Regions from separate parts of the Homo sapiens genome. Here regions 1, 3 and 4 are each linked to region 2. Evidence: promoter capture Hi-C in 16 types of primary human blood cells and fetal thymus (Javierre and others, 2016). All regions are on one chromosome and are shown on one strand. The core of a region is centred on a gene start or on the middle of the fragment in contact, and the rest is flanking DNA. Distances in the headings are between cores, read along the strand shown. Region 1 overlaps PIP4K2A (phosphatidylinositol-5-phosphate 4-kinase type 2 alpha). Region 2 holds the start of ARMC3 (armadillo repeat containing 3). Region 3 overlaps PIP4K2A (phosphatidylinositol-5-phosphate 4-kinase type 2 alpha). Region 4 holds the start of LOC124902393.

Region 1 (2,704 bases), core at 119-2,618, 350 kb before region 2:
AAACTCTGCCATTACAGTGCAAAAGCAGTAACAGACAATACAGAAACAAGGGGCATCGTGGTATTCCAATAAAAATGTATTTATAAAATTGGCCCAGCCAGCCGCGGTGGTTCATGCCTATAATCCCAGCACTTTGGAAGGCCAAGGTGGGTGGATTGCTTGAGCTCAGGAGTTCAAGATCAGCCTGGGCAACATGGTGAAATCCTGTCTCCACCAAAAAATACAAAAAATTAGCTGAGCATGGTGGTGCGTGCCTGTGGTCCCAGCTACGTGGGAGGACTGCTTGAGCCAGTGGGGCAGAGGTTGCCATGAGCCAAGATTGAGCCACTGCGCTCCAGACTGAGCAACAGAGGAAGACTCTTTCTCAAAAAAAAAAGAAAAGAAAAGAAAAAAAAGTCCCTCAAGTAGGATTTGGAATTCAGGAAAGTCATAGTTTTCCAACCCCTAACTTGAACATTCTCCCCTGAATTGGTGATACCAGAAGCCAGATTATGTCACTCCACTCTCAGAATTTCCAGGGGCCCCCCTTTATCTCCAAGCCTTTGAAATGGTCTCTGTACTTACAGTTCCCTCTGCCAGCAATATTCTTCCTCAGCTCATTTCCTCATCTCCTTCAAGTCTGCTCCAATGTCATCTTTCTCAGGGGAACCTTCCCTGACAGGACTATTTAAAACCCTCCCCCTCTTTAATTCTGTCTATAGCACTTACCACTTCTGGGTATGCTCTATGACTAACTTATCACTTTTACTTACTGCCTGTCTTTACCCACCAGAATGTCAGCTCCCCGAGTGCAGGTTTGGTTTGTTCATCCCATCACTTCCAGCATCTAGAACAGTGCCTGGTATGCAGTTGGCTGAATATTTAAGTAGATGTGATATCTCTAACATGTGCCAGTGTTTTTTGGTGAGGCCAGCAAGCACTTATTGCCTCACAGGAAGGAATACACTGCTACTTGTCTGGTAGCTTTAAGTGCTGAGCGGCTCCTAAGCATTTCTGATGATCAATGACAACATTTACAATGTAGAAGAGTAAGCTTGAGTTACTTTACAAAAATTCATAAAATCAGTCTCACCTTTAAGTCGTATTTCCTATACACAGACAAACGGTGGCTGAATACATTTCTTGTAACTATCACATATATTTCAACTCCATCAACATTAAGCCGGTACATGCCCAAGAACTGGGGAAGAAGGGTGATCCCATGACATTCCACTATGTACTGCATAGGAGAGAAAGAAAAAGGAAAAAAACATCCAATCAAAAGATTGCTTCCTTAGATGTAAAATACATACGCCTATGGTGTTCATACAAAGTGAAAACCTCCAGCCATTAGGGTCTTATTTACAGAAAATGACCACATTTGTACTGCTTACCAATCACATCTGTGTTCACCATCTCTACACAGAAAAGAAAATTCAATTTTATCTCCAAACAGATTTTTTTCCAACATTCCAAATGGAATTTGTATGGTCAAACCTTGGATATGATCGTGTAAGGCAAGAGGACATGTGACTATCTTTCTCAAATTCCTTTTAAGGGATATTACACTCCACCTAGCGCCTCTGTCTTCTACCCCCAAAGCCCTGACTACAAGGCTGAGGCAGAGCAACCTGGCTGCTAAAATAGCTTCTCTAACAGTGTTGAAGTCGAGATGAAAGAGGAAATTGTGGGGAGCCCAGTGTTAGAAGCTGGGAGGGCAGAGCTAAGCTTCTCAAGAGAGCAGGGGAGAAGGGGGCAACCCCTGTGACCATAGCACCCTCGCTCCTGCTCTGCCGGCAGATGGGGACTGCCTTGTCCCTGCTGGTTTCCACCAAGTTAACTGGACAAGCCCAGGGTTGACACCATTTCCGAGGAGAGTTGCAAAAAAAACACAACACGACCTTGGCTGTTTTTCATGACCAAACTCCAGAGGGCCACAAGATGGAGCCACTTCTCCCTGAGAGCAGATTTTCATAAAACGGGTCCCTCTGCACTTCCCAAAGGAAGCTTAGGTTTTCCTTCCTTTAAAATCATGGGGAAGTAATATTTCAAAAAAGCTCTATGTCCACTGACACGTGTGCAATCTCCAGGATAATAAACAGCATAAATGGTGAGATTCCATTACTGTAAACACCATACATGTTGGGCATATTCAGAGATGCTAATGATGCAATTGGAGGGAATTCTGATCCTTTTCTACTATACTGCTTGAATTTTTCATTTTCTGTTTTTTTTTTTTTTTACAATGAGCATTTTATAAAAAATACAAAAGTAATTAAAATGTCCTTTCAAACTTCTTAGTTGTAAATACTGTTAATAATCAATTCTGATAATATTTAACCACCTTAAGAATGAAAAAGTCTTTGGTTTTGATCATTAAAGATAAACAGCATTGGTACTTGATTCTGATTTTTGCCATCTAGAGTTTTGGCAAGTTTTAAAGATGCCTCTTCCCTTTCTTTTTTCTTATTGACAATAACTGAGCTATAAATTTTAATCTCATGTAATTCCTGAGTAGAGTTTCACCTTGTTATTTGAAATTAGATGAGTGAAACATTTTCTATTTCCTTTCAAAATATAATAAATTGAGTTTTGCTAATGCAAAACAGGCAGTAAATAGCCACTGGGTGAAAAGAAAATTTCTCACATCTGATCTAGAGAAATGAAAAGGGGTTCTTGGCCTCTGTAGAAAGGTGGTTGGATGGGCCTTCAAACATGGAGACTG
Region 2 (2,871 bases), core at 126-2,625:
TATTCTTGAAACTCCCTCCTTAGTTTCCTTGATGCTACTTGGTCTTAATCCTTTTCCTACTTTCATGACCATTACTTAAGATCTTTTCTATACAGAAGTCACACCGGATATTTGACCATGGAAAACTGAATACAAATAATTGTTATAAAGCTGTTTATCAGGCAATTTAAATGGTGAGAAGAGAACATAAGATATATAAAAGTAGCAATTATAAGAAGCATCTATCATTCTTAGGACTGGGAGACCAACAGGGGCCGGTAGGAGACGGAATTTGCAAAGTCTAAGAGGAGAGGGAGAGACTTTTTGCTAAAGGCAATCAAAAAATATTTTATGAAGATGGCATTTGAGCTGGGCTTAATTAAGTGGAAATGAGAGAATATTTCAGGTATTGCACATGACCTGGGAAATAGAAGCTACTTTATAAATATTTGTTGAAAAATGAAGTGATGAACAGATAAGCAAGAAAATCTAGAGAAAAGTGTGGAAAATTTCGGGAACAGTAAGTTTGGCTGGAGCTTGGATGGTGGAGATCGGTTGAAAATGTGGTTGCACAGATGGAGTAGAGATGGAGCAGACGGTCTTAAATTCCAGGCCAATGTGTTGAAAATTTATCTTAGGAAGCCGCTGACATTTGAGTAGGGAAGTGACAAGACTGGAACGATGATTTCTGGATGGCCGATTTGCCTGTGATACGTAGAAAGAACTGTAAGCAGAGAGCAACTGAATTTCTCAGCCAGAAGGCCAAAAAATGACGAGCTGGATTGAAGTGACAATAAGGATATGAGAAAGGGAACAAGCAGGAAACAAAATGTAAGCCGCCAAGAAGTGGCTGAAGTGATGACTGTGGTTGGGGGGCATGGGAGGAAGAAGGGAAATTGAAGCTCCTTCTGAGTCTAGGCAATTGGAAGAATGGCAGGAAGAGGAAAGAAAGAGGAAGAGAACGGGGCTTTGAAGGGCCATGAGAAGTTCTGTGGAAACGGATTGGACATCCTAGTGCAAAGAGATGTGGCAGTGCAGGTCTGCAGCTTAACGGAGCCTGGGCAGGAGGTGGCTGATGTGGGTTTCATCTGCATAGAGATTCCGGCTGACGCCTCTATTTGGAAGAATGCAATAGTATTTGCGTATTTGAACCCACAGCCAGTCCTTGGGCCAGAAACTGAGGCTGAACTGCCTCTTGATTTACAGCTTCCACCCCCAGTTTCCATTCTCCCCTAAAGCACTGGATTCAGGTAATCGCGGACGCACTTGGCTCCTCCCGCACTGGCCGCTGCCCTCGGCGGGACAATGGGCGCCCTAGCAGCCCCGAGCGTTCCCAGGGCGCAGGCGCGGCGCGGCGTGGCGTCGCCTAGCAACGAGGCACAACAAGGGACTGGGGGTTCGTCTGCTGGGTTTGCGGAGCAGCTAGCTACTCGGCGGGATCTCCCGGCAGGTAAAGGTAACCCCGTGGGGTGGGGAGGCCCAAGGCAGAGGCCTGAGGAAAACCTGGGAAAGGAGAAGGTGCCACGTGGGCGCAGACTGCTTGGGTCAGTGAGGCAACACCTTGCTGGGCGTTGTTAGTTTCTGCCTCGCGCCCGCAGGGTTAGACGGGGCTTGGGGTGGGTTTCGTAAGCATCCCGCCACCTCCCATTCAACAGGTGACAAAACTGAGGCCCGAGAGGGGATCTGAGGTGAGATCAAGTCAGATTCCGTTACTTGACTGTGAGCAACTCAGAAGTGGCCTCGATTTCTTGAGCCCTCCTCCTCTTTAAATCTTCTCAAAGCAGAACTCATTAGAAAATATTTAAAATCATAGGCTGAACGTTCACGAAGAACAAATACAAAGGACCAATCAACTCGTGAAAAAAAAAATGGCTCCAGTAGTCAAGAAGATGCATTTTTAGAGCAGAGTTGTTTGCATATCCAATGCCCTGAAGTTTTCACCCAGTTAATTTACTGCTAGAGATTTATCCTAAAGAAATAGTTGGGGATAATGGATGAAAATTTTATGTCCAAGGACGTTCTTTCAGCCCTGTCCATATTTCCAGAAAATTAGAAACAAATTTCAACAATCAGAGACTGGCTAGATAGCTAAGGGATTTTAAAATATTTGTAATGGCATGTTATGCTAATCCACTGGAGATTATTAAAGCAATGAAGGGAAACTGAGACTTCATGAATTTATTTGTTAATATAAGAATTTAGTAGGAATATGAACCCAGGAAGGGAAGGTGAAAGTAGGGGATAGAAGTTGAGGCAGGATGTTAAAATCACTTTAGAAAAACACACAAAGCCAGGTACGGTGGCTCACGCCTACAACCCCAGCACTTTGGGAGGCTGAGGCGGGTGGATCGCCTGAAGTCAGGAGTTCGAGACCAACCTGGTCAATGTGGGGAAACCTGTCTCTACTGAAAATACAAAAATTAGCCGAGCGTGGTGGCGGGTACCTGTAATCCCAGCTACTCAGGAGGCTGAGGCAGGAGAATCTCTTAAACCTGGGAGGTGGAGGTTGCAATGAGCCAAGATCAGGCCACTCTCCAGCCTGGGCAACAGAGTGAGACTCTGTCTCAAAAAAGAAAAAGAAAAAGAAAAAAAGAGAAGAGAGAGAGAGAGGGAGAGAGAGAGAGAGAAAGAGAGAGAGAAAGAGAAAGAAAAAGAAAAAGAAAGGAAAGGAAAGGAAAGGAAAGGAAAAGAAAAGAAATAGTATTGATCTCTCTGAGCTTATCTTTGGGTGATTTTTATTTTATTCGTTGTGCCCTTGTTTTCCAAATTCTCCACAGTGAAATGTATTACCCTTGTAAGGATCATCTCCATAGCTCATTGCCACCGACCTATGTCAGCTGTTCAGTCTCTCCTCCATTAACTATCATACCCAATATGGTGATAAAACACATA
Region 3 (2,700 bases), core at 60-2,559, 310 kb before region 2:
TGCTTAAATCAGTATCACTTAAGAGAGTCTTCTCAGACAGGAAACAGGAAACCAGAAACTTTCTGCATCCTTTTGCTTTATGGTACCTGCTCTGGAACATGTTTTGTGGAGAAAATATGAAAACTTCAGCCAACATGGAATGAGTAAACTGAGAATTTTCCTTATTGATTTTCCTTCCCCACCCATCCTCGCGTCAGCACAACCTTTAAGAGTCCACTCTGTGCTGGGCACAGCTCGGACACCAGTCTTTGTCCTCTTGGGGCTTATGGTCCAGAGGGGCAGACACATTAACTGAAGAACTGCCCCAAGTGTTGAACTCTAACAATGACAGAGTCAGGAGGGAGAAGCACAATGGGCTACGAGCAAGTATGGAAAAGGCCCAGGCCAGATGGGGGAGGCATGTGAGGCTTCCCTGGGCAGCAATGGCTCGTGGAGAAAGGAGAGGGCAGGTGGACAGGGCTTCCAGGAAGAAGGCGAGTCCTAGAGAGGAGGGGACACTGTTAATGGGAAAACAGTGCAGAAATAGACAAGGTGCGTGGCATGAAAGGGATGAACAACAGGCCCAGGAGCACCGGGAAGCGGCTGCTGTAGAATTGCACCAGACAGAGGAGAGCAGCTCAGCAGAGGGCGGAGGCGGCAGCAGAAACGAAAGAAGCAGAGAGACTCCGGCATGCTGAAGTGCTGAAATCTATGGGGCTTGATGATGACAGACTAGAAATGTAGGGAAAGATGGAGGGAATGCTGCATGCATGCGGGGGAAGCTGGTGGGTCCAACGACTGGCACAATGCATCTTAAGAGAAGAGTTCAGTTTTGAGCTTGTTAAACTTCATGCGCTCTTGGGACATCTAAGTGTCAATGTCAGGTAGGCCGTGGACAGGTGGGTCTGAAGTTCCCAGGGGCAGCAGGGGCAAGAGATAAAAATGTGTGTATCTGTGCATCAGACATTAGCTCCCCAGAGGAGTGGATGAGGTAACCTGGAGAGGGGCCGGTGTGATGGGGAGGAAGGCGGAGAAGCAGTCTTCAAGAACGGGAATGTTTCCAAGCCTGGAGAAGAGGATGAGAAAGGGGAAAACTGCCATCGAGGCAGGAAGTGAAAAAGCACAGGGCCACCCAATGGGAGTGAAGGGAAAAGGGGGTTCAAACATGCTATGGGATGATCATGATGCTTTTGAGAAGGCAGGGACTGGGAAATGTCAGCCAGATTGAACGGCACAGGAGGTCCTTGGCAACCTTGGCAGAGTTGTTTCGGTGGAGTGTAGCAATGGAACCCAGACTAAGTTGAGTTAAGGAAATGCTGGCACTGCACAGGGCTGATTTCTAAGGAGCCTGGCAGGGAAGGACAGGAGCGAGATGAAGAGGGATGAGGGACAGAGGGAGGACCTGACAGAGAAGGGACATTCCGTAGCACTTCTCGAGAAAGTGGGAGGGGATGGGATTCAGGCATGCAGGAAGGAGAGGCTCTGAGGAGGGAAGCGACTTTCCTGTTCACAGGAGGGAAAAGAGATAGGTGTCATGGGGAGGGAGCAGAACTGATGGAGGGAAGATGGGGCTCCCGACCACTGGCTCCTATTTTCTCTGGGGATTAGGGCCATGGCCACCTGCTAAGAGTGAGAAGCAGGCTGAGGACTTCAAAGGTTAAAGAGAACACAGAGAGCTTAAAAAGGGGACTGCAGAATGTGGATGGACAAGTTTAAATAGAGACAGGAGGCTGGGCTTCCGGGCAGAGCTGAGCGTCATCCACAGTTTGTGATGGTTCACGTACAGGAACCAAGTGAACTTGTGGATGACATTCCTCATTCTGGCAGAGCTCAACCCCAGGGTGCAGGTGCAGAGACAGGATGACAGGCGTTCTTCAGGATGGAGGGTGTTTGCTGGCTGAGTGTGACATAAAGGGGAAAGGAGTTCCAGGACCATCACTTGGAAATGGAAAGTCAGTACAAAACAAGATCCCTGACTGTAAGGAGTTTTCCACTGTAGTCGATGGTGCAAGACCTTCACATGTAGTAAAATACCAAGCAGCACAGAAGAAATGCTGAAGCCAGACAACAAGTGCCACAGAAGCACAGAGCAGGAGCCCGTGGTCACGGGTGTGGGTGACGGGCTTCTTGGAAGGAGTGCAGCCCTACATGGCCCTTGAGGGACGGAGAGTTCTGACTACTGTGTCATTTAAATGTCAGGGAAACACAAACTTTTAGCTATTCCCCATCTTCCAAAACCAGACTACCCCAAGAGGTAGAGAATGTTTGGTCCTCTTTATCTAAGAAGACAAGAAATGAGACAAGAAGAAAAATCAAATGGTTTACATGGAATCATAAGATGCTGAAATTAAAAGAGAATTTCGGAGATCATATAGTCTAACCTCTCATTTTGCAGATTGTAATATGTCCTGGTACAGCAGTATCTATACCTTCATAATTGAGTAGTGCGGCAGGATACTGAGTTAGATCTGACAGCTACTTTATGGCTACTTTATCTTTCTTCCAGGTGGCCTTTCATTCTTTACATTTGCATCACATTGCTTTTGGCTTTATTTCCCCTCCGGATTCCCCCCAGAAAACTTCTTCGTCAGGTGGTAGCTAGATTTAATGACTTGTAAACAAACACTTCACAAAACAGAGGATCTACTACTTAAAAGAGAAGCTTTTAATTAGTAAACTATTTTTTCAATAGTGTACCCATGAGCCTCTATATTATTTTTT
Region 4 (2,700 bases), core at 198-2,697, 370 kb before region 2:
TTTTTTTTTTTTTTTTTTTTTACAAAAACTTAACTGTTCTTTTTAAATTAAGAACAAGATAGGCTGGGCGTGGCGGCTCACACCTGCAATCTCAGCACTTTGGGACTCTGAGACAGGAGGTTCACTGGAGCCCAGAAGTTCGAGACCAGTCTGGCTAACATAGTGAGACTCCATCTCTACAAAAAAGTAATAAAACATATGAGATAACCGTGGTGGTGTGTGCCTCTCATCCCAGCTATTTGGGAGGCTGAGGTAGGAGGATCGCTTGAGCCCGGGAGGTCAAAGTTGCAGAGAGCCATGATCGCGCCACTGCACTCCAGCCTGGGTGACATAGTAAGACCCTACCTCAAAAACAAAAAGAAAAAAACGAGATGACAAAGGTTAAGTCACCTGACAATGATTCACTCTCAAGAAAATCTTACTACTTAGCTTTTTAAAAGAAATTTCAATATATCTCTCTGATAATGAGCAGTGCTTATATTAGAAACATCTTTTTTTTAAATGTGGAAAACTATACTATGATTTAATGAACTTAATAAACTCTTGGTGTAAAACTGCCTACAAAGATGACGTCTGCAGAGCAGCAGAAAATTAACTGTGGGCAGCGACAGCTTAATGTAGCAACAGATTCTACACTTTGCTTTTAAACACTGGATTATTTGCGCTTAGAGTTTTCCAAGCTTGTAGTCACTGGGTCTGGTTCTTTAATGAGTGTCTTTGATATCTTTTCTAGTTCAGTGCAGAAACAGCCAGAGGGTGGAAGAAACCCCCAGGGCTAACTAAAGACAGCTCAGAAATGCTTCTCAGCTGTGGACTCTCCGAGGCCGGCTTCCAGCCAGCGGTCAGCAACCTTTCTGAAGTGGCGGCGGGCCGAGTCTTTATTTGCGCTGAATTCAGCTCTGGCCAGTTTTGTGCAGATCAGAGCCTCTAAGTAAGGCGGGACGATTGCTGTACGACCCTCTGTACTTGCTGGGAGGGGACGAGGGTATGGGAGGGAACTGCTCTTCCCCACCCCGTCCTCCTCTGTGCGTCTAGTCCTGAGCTGGGATTCCTGCCCGGGTCGGGGGCCCCAGAGCTGCTCCAAGGCCCTGGCCAGCTGAGGCCCCGTGAGTAAATACAGCCCAACGCAGAGCCAGGCTAGCACAGGCAGGGCTGTTTTCTCTCTTGCATGAGGTAATCTGCTGCGGTGGGTTGGATTCCAAGTGGCATTCATCTCCGCTAATGTGACGTGTAAATGCACAAACACAGCCACAGGCATCAGCAGAGGGACGCCGTTCCCCCCGCAGCCTGGCTGTCCTGCTTCCCGTTCGGATAAAATGAGCCCTTCACTGTCATACGGAGTGATGCCCGACCCCAGGTCGACTAGGCATGGCTCAGCTTTCCACGTAGGAGACAAACTGAAGCCCATGGTTATGTGAACACACTAGATCCAGGCTGCCTGGGTTGTAGCTCCGCAACTCCAATTATTAGCTATGTGACTCTGGCAAGTTAAGTTACCTCTCTGTGACTTGGTTTCCCATCTTTAAAGGGGGATTTGCAAACATAGGGTTGTGAGGGTTGCATGAGTTCACACATGTAAAAAGGCCTAAAATGGTGCCTGCCACACAGTGTGTTATATACAAACGTCGTTATATGCTAATCATGTTCTCAAGTATGGCTTATGGATCTAGGAAAAGCGCATCGCTGATCAATCCAGAGCAAGATTTTTCTTTTAAAAAATATACTGACATATTTAACATTTTAACACTAGCTGTGATGTTCTGGGCCAGTTGCTTAGTCTGCCCAAACCTCAGTTTCCTTACTTATATAATGGGTAATTAATAATACTGTACCTATGTAATAGGGTTAGTGTGTAAATCAAATGACACAAAGCACATAGTGCCTGGCAATAGTAACTTGCTATGTCTATTTCTTCTAAAATAGGGTCTTTAAACTTAGGATACCTTCTAGTTGATACCTGGATAATTAAAAAAAAAAAACAATTTATGATGTCGGTAATCTAAACCTGGGGGTCCAATCTTTTAGCTTCCCTGGGCCACACTGGAAGAAGAATTGTCTTGGGCCACACATAGAATCAGTGAACACTAATGAGAGCTGATGAGCTTAAAAAAAAAAAAAAAATCACAAGAAAATCTCATCATGTTTTAAGAAAGTTTACGGATTTGTACTGGGCCACATTCAAAGCCGTCCTGGGCCCCATGCAGCCCGTGAGCGACAAGCTTTATTTAAACGATGTTTAAAATTTCCTTTGTTTTTAGGTTTTATCTGCTAGTTACAAACATGTCACATGAATTCTCTACATACTGTCTTCAAATTTGGAAGACACTTTTGTCACTGCACACTGCACACAAACCTACCATACATGAGGGCAAAGTTAGTATTTCATTTCACTACACAGGACCCACGGGGAACACAGAGGGCACATGAGACAGGATGCATCGAAGGTGACATGGCCCGAGGCGCCAACCTCCCTGTCGTGGCGGCTCTAGTTCCCTACACTGCTTTGCAAACCTCAATTGTGAATGCTACCAGCTAGAAAAACCTCTGTGATCACCTGCAAAAGCTATTCCTAGTAGGAAACCTCACTGAAAAGACCTTTTGTTTAAACTGAAACCCAAATGAGAGTAAAATGTCCCTATCTTATCATAAAAATTGGACTGGTTAAATTCCTGAAGTAATAAAGAATTTGAAATTTATGAT

Evidence for each region. The method cuts DNA at HindIII sites, captures the fragments that hold promoters and counts their contacts. A CHiCAGO score of 5 or more calls a contact.
Region 1: a fragment that was not itself captured here is called in contact with the fragment with the promoter of ARMC3 in region 2 in 14 of 17 cell types (non-activated CD4 T cells, fetal thymus, activated CD4 T cells and 11 more); the score reaches 7.9 in non-activated CD4 T cells.
Region 3: a fragment that was not itself captured here is called in contact with the fragment with the promoter of ARMC3 in region 2 in 5 of 17 cell types (megakaryocytes, naive CD4 T cells, naive CD8 T cells and 2 more); the score reaches 7.2 in megakaryocytes.
Region 4: a fragment that was not itself captured here is called in contact with the fragment with the promoter of ARMC3 in region 2 in 1 of 17 cell types (total CD8 T cells); the score reaches 5.0 in total CD8 T cells.

Annotation. Positions count from the first base shown.
Region 1 is chr10:22,572,239-22,574,942 of GRCh38, forward strand. It overlaps PIP4K2A (phosphatidylinositol-5-phosphate 4-kinase type 2 alpha), which reads right to left. Exons shown (of 10, transcript NM_005028.5): 5 at 1,073-1,219. Among named protein-coding and RNA genes, the nearest start is that of LINC03027, 140 kb to the left of the region's middle. The HindIII fragment of the contact is 674 bases long and covers 1,032-1,705 here.
Region 2 is chr10:22,926,678-22,929,548 of GRCh38, forward strand. It overlaps ARMC3 (armadillo repeat containing 3), which reads left to right and starts at 1,376. Exons shown (of 19, transcript NM_173081.5): 1 at 1,376-1,429. The HindIII fragment of the contact is 5,434 bases long and covers 1-2,871 here.
Region 3 is chr10:22,611,968-22,614,667 of GRCh38, forward strand. The region is part of intron 1 of PIP4K2A (phosphatidylinositol-5-phosphate 4-kinase type 2 alpha); the gene reads right to left. Among named protein-coding and RNA genes, the nearest start is that of PIP4K2A, 100 kb to the right of the region's middle. The HindIII fragment of the contact is 2,660 bases long and covers 1-2,639 here.
Region 4 is chr10:22,553,793-22,556,492 of GRCh38, forward strand. The region is part of intron 6 of PIP4K2A (phosphatidylinositol-5-phosphate 4-kinase type 2 alpha); the gene reads right to left. LOC124902393 reads right to left here and starts at 1,503. Exons shown (of 1, transcript XM_047426113.1): 1 at 705-1,503. The coding sequence starts at 1,408. The coding sequence ends at 791. The HindIII fragment of the contact is 1,539 bases long and covers 679-2,217 here.